Linked DNA regions of Homo sapiens: region 2 is linked to region 1. The links are contacts of gene promoters, found by promoter capture Hi-C in human tissues and cell types (Jung and others, 2019). All regions are on one chromosome and are shown on one strand. Each heading gives the region's core, a stretch centred on a gene start or on the middle of the fragment in contact. The rest is flanking DNA. Distances are from core to core; before and after follow the strand shown. Region 1 holds the start of SULT1A2 (sulfotransferase family 1A member 2). Region 2 holds the start of SPN (sialophorin).

Region 1 (4,124 bases), core at 554-3,053:
CACAGCTAAGTTTTTTTTTTGGAAGAGACTTATCTGGAACTTCTGGCTTCAAGGGATCTTCCCACCTCAGCCTCCCAAAGTACTGAGATTGCGGGTGTGAACCACTGTGCCCAGTCTCACCTTGACCTTCTGATCCAACAGAGTCTGGGGGAGCAGAGCCAGGGGCAGGTGTGTCTTCAGGAGTCGTGGGGCTGGTGTGTTTTTCAGAGTCTCCATCCCTGAGCAGTGGGTCAGGGAAGGTCTGGTGAGCTGAAGCCCCAGCCCTGTCTTCCTCCACTCCCCTTGCACCCAGGACACACACACCTGAGGGAATCCCTGGGACTTTGAACTCAAGGAAGGGCACCCGCATGAAGATGGGAGCTCGGTGACACTTTTCCAGGTCACCGCCCTGGTAGATCATGTCCAGAATCTGGCTCACCCAGGTGGTGCCTGGAGAGGGAGGGAGATGGGAGGTGAGCAGGCTGAGGTGAGCATGACCTCGCTGGCCAAGGTGGGGACTGCCACCTGGGAGAGGGTGGGTGGCCCTCCTCACCTACCGGACTTGGGGTAGGTGCTGATGAGCAGGTCATCAGGCCGGGCCTGGAAGCTCTGCAGGGGCCCCAGTGCCTCTGCAAAGTACTTGATGAGCGGGACCCCCTTCACGTACTCCAGTGGCGGGCGAGAGATGTCCTGGATCAGCTCCATGTTCCTGCGTCAGGGGCCAGAGCCAGGCCCGTTCCCTTACCACCATCACAACAGCAAGAAAGTGGAATTCTTGCTTTCAGGGAAGTCACTGAGGCCTAGGGAGGCTGAGTGACTTGCCCGCACTCACAAGGCCAGTCAGTGGCGGGGCTGGGGCTGAAAACCAGGTCGGGCTCTAATGTGGTGGTTCCCCAGCCTGGCCTCACCTTTCATTCACCTGCGGAGCTGTTCAAAATCCCAGGGCCTGGGCCATGGTGCAGACCAGTGAAAGCACCCTCGTGGCGCGGGGCCCAGATGTCAGGGTGTGTGAAGGTCTCCAGGAGAGTCCAGCTGCACTGAGGAACCTCTAGGACCTTCCTGTGCTGTCTTCCTGCCAGCCAGCGCCCTTTGTCTCACCATTTCCTGCTGGGACCCCCAGCCTCCACCCAGTAGGCTCCTCTCCCCGATGTTCCCCTCCTTGAGCCCCTCGGCCCCTCACATGTGGCAACTCCTAGGCTGGCCAGGCCTGTGATCCACTTGCCCGGCCACAGTCCATCTGGGCTCCAGGACAAACAGCCCATTGAGCAACTGAGCTGGTATTGGGGGCCAGAGCCTGATGTGGGAATGAGCAAAACTGTGATGACTCAGCAAAAGGAGGATCCTGGGCAGGGTGGCTCCCACCTGTAATCCCAGACCCTAGGGAGGCTGAGGCCAGAATTTGGAGACCAATCTGGGCAGCATTGGAAGACCCCATCTCTAAAAATCTTTTAAAAATATTTTTTAAAACTATCCAGGCAGGATGGTGAGGGTCTGTAGTCCTAGCTACTGAGGCAGGAGAATCACTTGAGCCCAGGAATTCAAGGCTGCAGTGGCCAGGATCCCACAGCACTCCAGCCTCGGTGACAGCAAGACCTGGCCTCCCCGGAAAAAAAAAAAAGGAAGGGAGGGGGATTCAGGCCGGCCGGGGTTGTCTGAAATGGGATATCCATGGGGAGAGGGCAGGGATAGCAGAGGCCTCGGCTTCTGGAATGTTGGAGCCACAAGCTGAGCAGGGTGAGGGCGTCCTGGGCCATTCCGGTGTGTCACTCACCTGAGCTCTTGGGAACCTGGCCTTGTGCCCTCCTCGCCCGCAGTGGCTGAGTGTGGGTGTTGTGTGGGGAATGCAGGGGTGTTGTCTGTGCTGAGGGTTTCTTAGGTCAGTGTGGGAGGGATCTGGAGCCGGGGCTGGACTTAGATTTGCTTCCGGAAGGAAGGGGTAGGGTTGGGGGTGGGGGAGCTTCTCTATTACCCTCCTTAGTTTGCCAGCTGGAGACAAGCTTAAAGTGATCTCCAAAGCCACGACTGGGTTTGGTGTGTAGAAAACAGAAGAATGAAAGGGGAAAGGGCCCAATGGTGGGTTTGTTTTTGTGGGTTTTTTTTTTTGAGCTGTCACTGGGCTCCTGACCTGCCCCTGAACTCCAAAAGACAAGCTTTCTCTAATTGACCCAGGCAAGAGAGGGGAGGGATTGGAGGAGAAAGATGGGATAGGCAGGCCCTGGAAAGGTCACCTACCTGCTGGCTCCAGGCCAGTCTTGAAGGTGCCAGGGGTCCTGGCCCAGTGCAACCCACAGGCCTCCAGCAGCCCATGCACTCCAGGCTCTGACCACAAGGCCAGTCTGGAGTGATGCGTGTGGGCAGAGTGAAGGGGCAGGGGTGGAGCAGAGCATGGATCCATAGAACAAGAAAGAACAAGGACACTGCAGTCCCATTGCCCTGGGAGCCAGCCCCAGCTTCATGGCTCCCTGGGGACCTCACAGAACATCGATAGAAGATCCTAGAAGAACCACAGCCCCTGGCAGGTACTTTTCTTTCCATGGGTTTGAAGGAGGCTCCACAGACAGAGGCCAGAGGAGGTTGAGGCTTGGAAGCCACAGGGCCCCGTGGAAGGAGTGCATCCCCCCACCCTCCTCGTTCTTTGTCCTCACTATTTAAAGTCCAGGGTCAAGCTGGGCACGAGACAGGTAAACAACCATCTGAGTAAAGGTGAGTCTCCCAAGCCTTCCCAGGGTTGCGTGAGCTCAGAGGCAAGCGGGGAAAACTGAGGCATGGGATTTCCAGGCAGAGGAGAGGCTGCTCCCCTGCTAGGGCCACAGGCCCCTCCTCCCTCCTCTGTGCCCCTGAGGAATCCCCATGACTGGCAGGTCCTCCGGCTACTAGCTCCACCCCTGCCCTCAGCAACCTTCAGGAGGCCCTCTTGACTGAGACTTTGTATTGCACTCTAGTGAAAACCAGCCGGACCAGCAGGGGGTGGCACAGAAAAGAGGCGAGAATGTGAGATTAATAGAGTGCTAGCAAGACAACAGAAAATCCCAGGCAGCAGTTTCACATGACCAGAAGAAGGAAACTTGAAATAGCTGCATGTGCCAAGGGCCAATAAGTCCCTGAAAAATAGGATGAGGACCAAGCTGGCTGCGACCAACCAGAAGCAACATGGCGCTGTATTTGATGTAGGTTTCACCTAGGATCTCACTGTACAATCAGTAACATATGAAACCGTACACCCACCAGTGCCAAGACGGCTCCAGGAACACCTGTATTTGGGTGTAAATTGTGGCACCACGGTCTTGAGAAATCTTTACCTTTTCCTGGAATCTTCATGAATATACCCCTCTTTAGTTGAAGAAGCCCATAAAGGTCAGCCCCACACCTTGTAGGGCATGAGACACTCTCTTGAGGACCCCCACGTTCCTCTTCTTCAGTGAGTCCCTTTACTCTGCAGGAAATCTGCCTACGTTCATGACTTTTGCACTTGTCCTTAAATTGTTTCTGGCTAAGGTGCCAAGAGCCTGGAGAAGGCCTGGCACGGTGGCTCACTCCTGTAATCCCAGCACTTTGGGAGGCCGAGGCAGGCAGACCACCTGAAGTCGGGAGTTTGAGACCAGCCTGACCAACATGGAGAAACCTTGTCTCTACTAAAAATAGAAAATTAGTCAAGCCTGGTGGCACACGCCTGTAATCCCAGCTACTTGGGAGGCTGAGGCAGGAGAATCGCTTGAACCCGGGAGGCGGAGGTTGCGGTGAGCCAAGATCACGCCATTGCACTCCAGCCTGGGCAACAAGAGTGAAACTCGGTCTCAAAAAAACAAAACAAAACAAAAAAAAGCGTGGAAACGGGCTGAGGTCGATGTCCCACCGGTCTTTGATGACCTCCCCTAGGCCACCAGTATCTGGAGGGGATTAGGGACACTGAGCTCCAGCAGGGCTATCCAGTGTGCCTGCAGAAACAAGGTTGGTCACAGGCAGCCCAGGACAGGGAGTGGGGTAGGGAGGCTGGGGCCAAAGCCCACTCACGTCTTCTAATTCCGAGTCTTCCACTATTTCCCCCGTGCTCATCCATCACAGCCAGATCAGGTCACCCAAAGCAGTGACGCCTCACAGCTACCAAGGCATGGGGCCAGAGAGAGAGACAGAGTCAGGCATCACAA
Region 2 (4,124 bases), core at 665-3,164, 1.1 Mb after region 1:
TTATGTGCTTGTTCAAGGTCATGCAGCTGGAAGATGGTGGTGGTAGGACAGGAAGTCTGTAGGGCCTGATTCTGCAGCCCTCTAGTCTATACTCCTTTGCTCCTGTGTCCCTCATCCCCCCTGCAGAATGGGCACCCCGTTACCTTTCTGAGCCACTGTGCGCAGAAAAGAGAGCATGTTGGCCAGGCTGGTCTCGAACTCCTGACCTCAAGTGATCAGCCTGCCTTAGCCTCCCAAAGTCCTGGGATTACAGGCGTGAACCACCACGCTCAGCCTCTGAATACTTTGTACTCAAGCCATTTTTCAGTGCTGTGTTTGCAGTGAGCACACCCGAGGGATGAAGACACGTCTCCCTGTGGGAACCTGGGCTTACCAGGGCCCCTAGAGGAGGGGAATCTCTCAAGCTCAGAGCTCTATGGCTGCGGTGCAGGCCCACTGTGTGCATGGTGTCAGTCTGGGCCCTTCCATGTTGCCCCCGTGGGACTTGGGGTAAGGGGAACTGATGCAAACATCACGCTGCTGTTGCTTGGTGTGAGCAATTAATTCCTGTGGCTCTCACCCAGGAGTCTCATGTCTTTGGGTCAGACAAACTCATCAGCTTGTAGAAATGGCACAGTCCCACGGGCCTGTTAGAATCTTCTATTGTGCACATGTTGCTCTTAAAATATACAAATCAGTTTTGATTTTAAAAAATTATTTATTTTTTTAGTGATAGGAGTTTTGCTACGTTGCCCAGGCTGGTTTCAAACTCTTGGGCTCAGGAGGTCCTCCCACTTTGGCCTGGACTGCCAGCATAATGTATCACCACACCCGGGACTGATTTTCGTTTTTCAAGAACAAAAACCAAAAACATACACAAACCGAGAGTCAAAGCTTGCTAATTAGAGGAAAGTCAGGAAATGGGAACCATTCAAAGAAGAAAATACCCCCACCTCCTACTCTCACCTATCCAAAGACAATTAGGTGAATCCCTTAGTAGATATCTTTCCAGACGGTTTTCCATATAGATTCCCATATCTGGCCAGGCGCGGTGGCTCACACCTGTAATCCTAGCGCTTGGGGAGGCTGAGGCGGATGGACCACCTGAGGTCAGGAGTTCGAGACCAGCCTGACCAACATGGAGAAACCTCGTCTCTACGAAAAATACAAAATTAGCCGGGCACAGTGGTGCAAGCCTGTAATCCCAGCTACTCAGGAGGCCGAGGCAGGAGAATTGCTTGAACCTAGGAGGCAGACATTGTGCTGAGCCGAGCCAAGATCATGCCATTGCACTAAACTCCGCCTTAAAAAAAAAAAAAAAGATTCCCACATCTTTACTAGTTTGCAGAAATAAGATCCTAGCATATGCAGTGTGTAGGAACCACCTTGGTTTAGCCACGTCTCTGTGACTGGGGGCCACTGTGGTGACCCCCAGCTCCCCGGACAGAGTCAAGAGCTCACCAGCCTGCAAAGGTTTTCACGGCCCCCAGCCAGACTCGGGGGCTTCCTCTTGCCCTGCTACTTCCTGGGAGCTCTGAGGGCAGGAAATGGCGCCACTCAGCTCCTGGCCTAACAGCTTGGGGACCACAAATGCAAAGGAAACCACCCTCCCCTCCCACCTCCTCCTCTGCACCCTTGAGTTCTCAGGCTCACATTCCCACCACCCACCTCTGAGCCCAGCCCTCCCTAGCATCACCACTTCCATCCCATTCCTCAGCCAAGAGCCAGGAATCCTGATTCCAGATCCCACGCTTCCCTGCCTCCCTCAGGTGAGCCCCAGACCCCCAGGCACCCCGCTGGCCCCTGAAGGAGCAGGTGATGGTGCTGTCTTCGCCCAGCAGCTGTGGGAGCAGGCGGGTGGGGCAGGATGGAGGGGTGGGTGGGGTGGGTGGAGCCAGGGCCCACTTCCTTTCCCCTTGGGGCCCTGTCCTTCCCAGTCTTGCCCCAGCCTCGGGAGGTGGTGGAGTGACCTGGCCCCAGTGCTGCGTCCTTATCAGCCGAGCCGGTAAGAGGGTGAGACTTGGTGGGGTAGGGGCCTCAGTGGGCCTGGGAATGTGCCTGTGGCTTGAAAAGACTCTGACAGGTTATGATGGGAAGAGATTGGGAGCCATTGGGCTGCACAGGGTCAGGGAAGGCCAGGAGGGGCTGGTCACTGCTGGAATCTAAGCTGCTGAGGCTGGAGGGAGCCTCAGGATGGGGCTGATGGGGGAGCTGCCAGCATCTGTTCCTCTGTCATTTCTGATAACAGTAAAAGCCAGCATGGAAAAAACCGTTAAACCGCAGGTTGGGCCTGGCCGTTGGCAGGGAAGTGGGCAGAGGGGAGGCCCGGCCAGGTCCTCCGGCAACTCCCGCGTGTTCTGCTTCTCCGGCTGCCCACCTGCAGGTCCCAGCTCTTGCTCCTGCCTGTTTGCCTGGAAATGGCCACGCTTCTCCTTCTCCTTGGGGTGCTGGTGGTAAGCCCAGACGCTCTGGGGAGCACAACAGCAGTGCAGACACCCACCTCCGGAGAGCCTTTGGTCTCTACTAGCGAGCCCCTGAGCTCAAAGATGTACACCACTTCAATAACAAGTGACCCTAAGGCCGACAGCACTGGGGACCAGACCTCAGCCCTACCTCCCTCAACTTCCATCAATGAGGGATCCCCTCTTTGGACTTCCATTGGTGCCAGCACTGGTTCCCCTTTACCTGAGCCAACAACCTACCAGGAAGTTTCCATCAAGATGTCATCAGTGCCCCAGGAAACCCCTCATGCAACCAGTCATCCTGCTGTTCCCATAACAGCAAACTCTCTAGGATCCCACACCGTGACAGGTGGAACCATAACAACGAACTCTCCAGAAACCTCCAGTAGGACCAGTGGAGCCCCTGTTACCACGGCAGCTAGCTCTCTGGAGACCTCCAGAGGCACCTCTGGACCCCCTCTTACCATGGCAACTGTCTCTCTGGAGACTTCCAAAGGCACCTCTGGACCCCCTGTTACCATGGCAACTGACTCTCTGGAGACCTCCACTGGGACCACTGGACCCCCTGTTACCATGACAACTGGCTCTCTGGAGCCCTCCAGCGGGGCCAGTGGACCCCAGGTCTCTAGCGTAAAACTATCTACAATGATGTCTCCAACGACCTCCACCAACGCAAGCACTGTGCCCTTCCGGAACCCAGATGAGAACTCACGAGGCATGCTGCCAGTGGCTGTGCTTGTGGCCCTGCTGGCGGTCATAGTCCTCGTGGCTCTGCTCCTGCTGTGGCGCCGGCGGCAGAAGCGGCGGACTGGGGCCCTCGTGCTGAGCAGAGGCGGCAAGCGTAACGGGGTGGTGGACGCCTGGGCTGGGCCAGCCCAGGTCCCTGAGGAGGGGGCCGTGACAGTGACCGTGGGAGGGTCCGGGGGCGACAAGGGCTCTGGGTTCCCCGATGGGGAGGGGTCTAGCCGTCGGCCCACGCTCACCACTTTCTTTGGCAGACGGAAGTCTCGCCAGGGCTCCCTGGCGATGGAGGAGCTGAAGTCTGGGTCAGGCCCCAGCCTCAAAGGGGAGGAGGAGCCACTGGTGGCCAGTGAGGATGGGGCTGTGGACGCCCCAGCTCCTGATGAGCCCGAAGGGGGAGACGGGGCTGCCCCTTAAGTGTCGGTGAATAGTGAGGCTGGAGGCCGGAATCTCAGCCAGCCTCCAGCACCTTCCCTCTCACCATCCCACTGCCCCCTCGCTCCCATGTTTCCACCCGGCACCCTGATCCTCACCCGAATCTCCTTTTTTTTTTTCTTTTGAGACAGAGTTTCGCTTTGTCGCCCAGGCTGGAGTGCAATGCACGATCTCAGTTCACTGCAACCTCTGCCTCCTAAGTTCAGGCGATTCTCCTGCCTCAGCTTCCCGAGTAACTGAGATTACAGGCACCCACCACCATGCCCAGCTGCTTTTTTGTATTTTTGGTAGAGATGGGGTTTCACCATGTTGGCTAGGCTGGTCTCAAACTCCTGACCTCAGGTGATCTACCTGCCTCAGCCTCCCAAAGTGCTGAGATTACAGACATGAGCCTCCGCGCCTTGCCTCCTCACCCACCTCTTCACTCTGAATCCTCATGAGGCTTCTCAGCCCTGGATTTCCTGCTGCCATCCTCACCCAGCACCCACAACTAGCGCCTGGGCAGGG

The links. The method cuts DNA at HindIII sites, captures the fragments that hold promoters and counts their contacts. A contact is called where the count stands out against the background at its distance.
Region 2: the fragment with the promoter of SPN here is called in contact with the fragment with the promoter of SULT1A2 in region 1 in 1 of the 25 tissues and cell types used here (dorsolateral prefrontal cortex).

The regions. Positions count from the first base shown.
Region 1 is chr16:28,595,247-28,599,370 of GRCh38, forward strand. It overlaps SULT1A2 (sulfotransferase family 1A member 2), which reads right to left and starts at 1,804. Exons shown (of 8, transcript NM_001054.4): 1 at 1,751-1,804; 2 at 537-688; 3 at 304-429; 4 at 121-218. The coding sequence starts at 684. RefSeq lists enhancers at 1,742-2,036, 3,670-4,124. The HindIII fragment of the contact is 13,947 bases long and covers 1-4,124 here.
Region 2 is chr16:29,661,333-29,665,456 of GRCh38, forward strand. It overlaps SPN (sialophorin), which reads left to right and starts at 1,915. Exons shown (of 2, transcript NM_003123.6): 1 at 1,915-1,984; 2 at 2,363-4,124. The coding sequence starts at 2,397. The coding sequence ends at 3,599. RefSeq lists enhancers at 630-679, 1,320-1,399 and silencers at 1,580-1,639, 2,900-3,019. The HindIII fragment of the contact is 34,536 bases long and covers 1-4,124 here.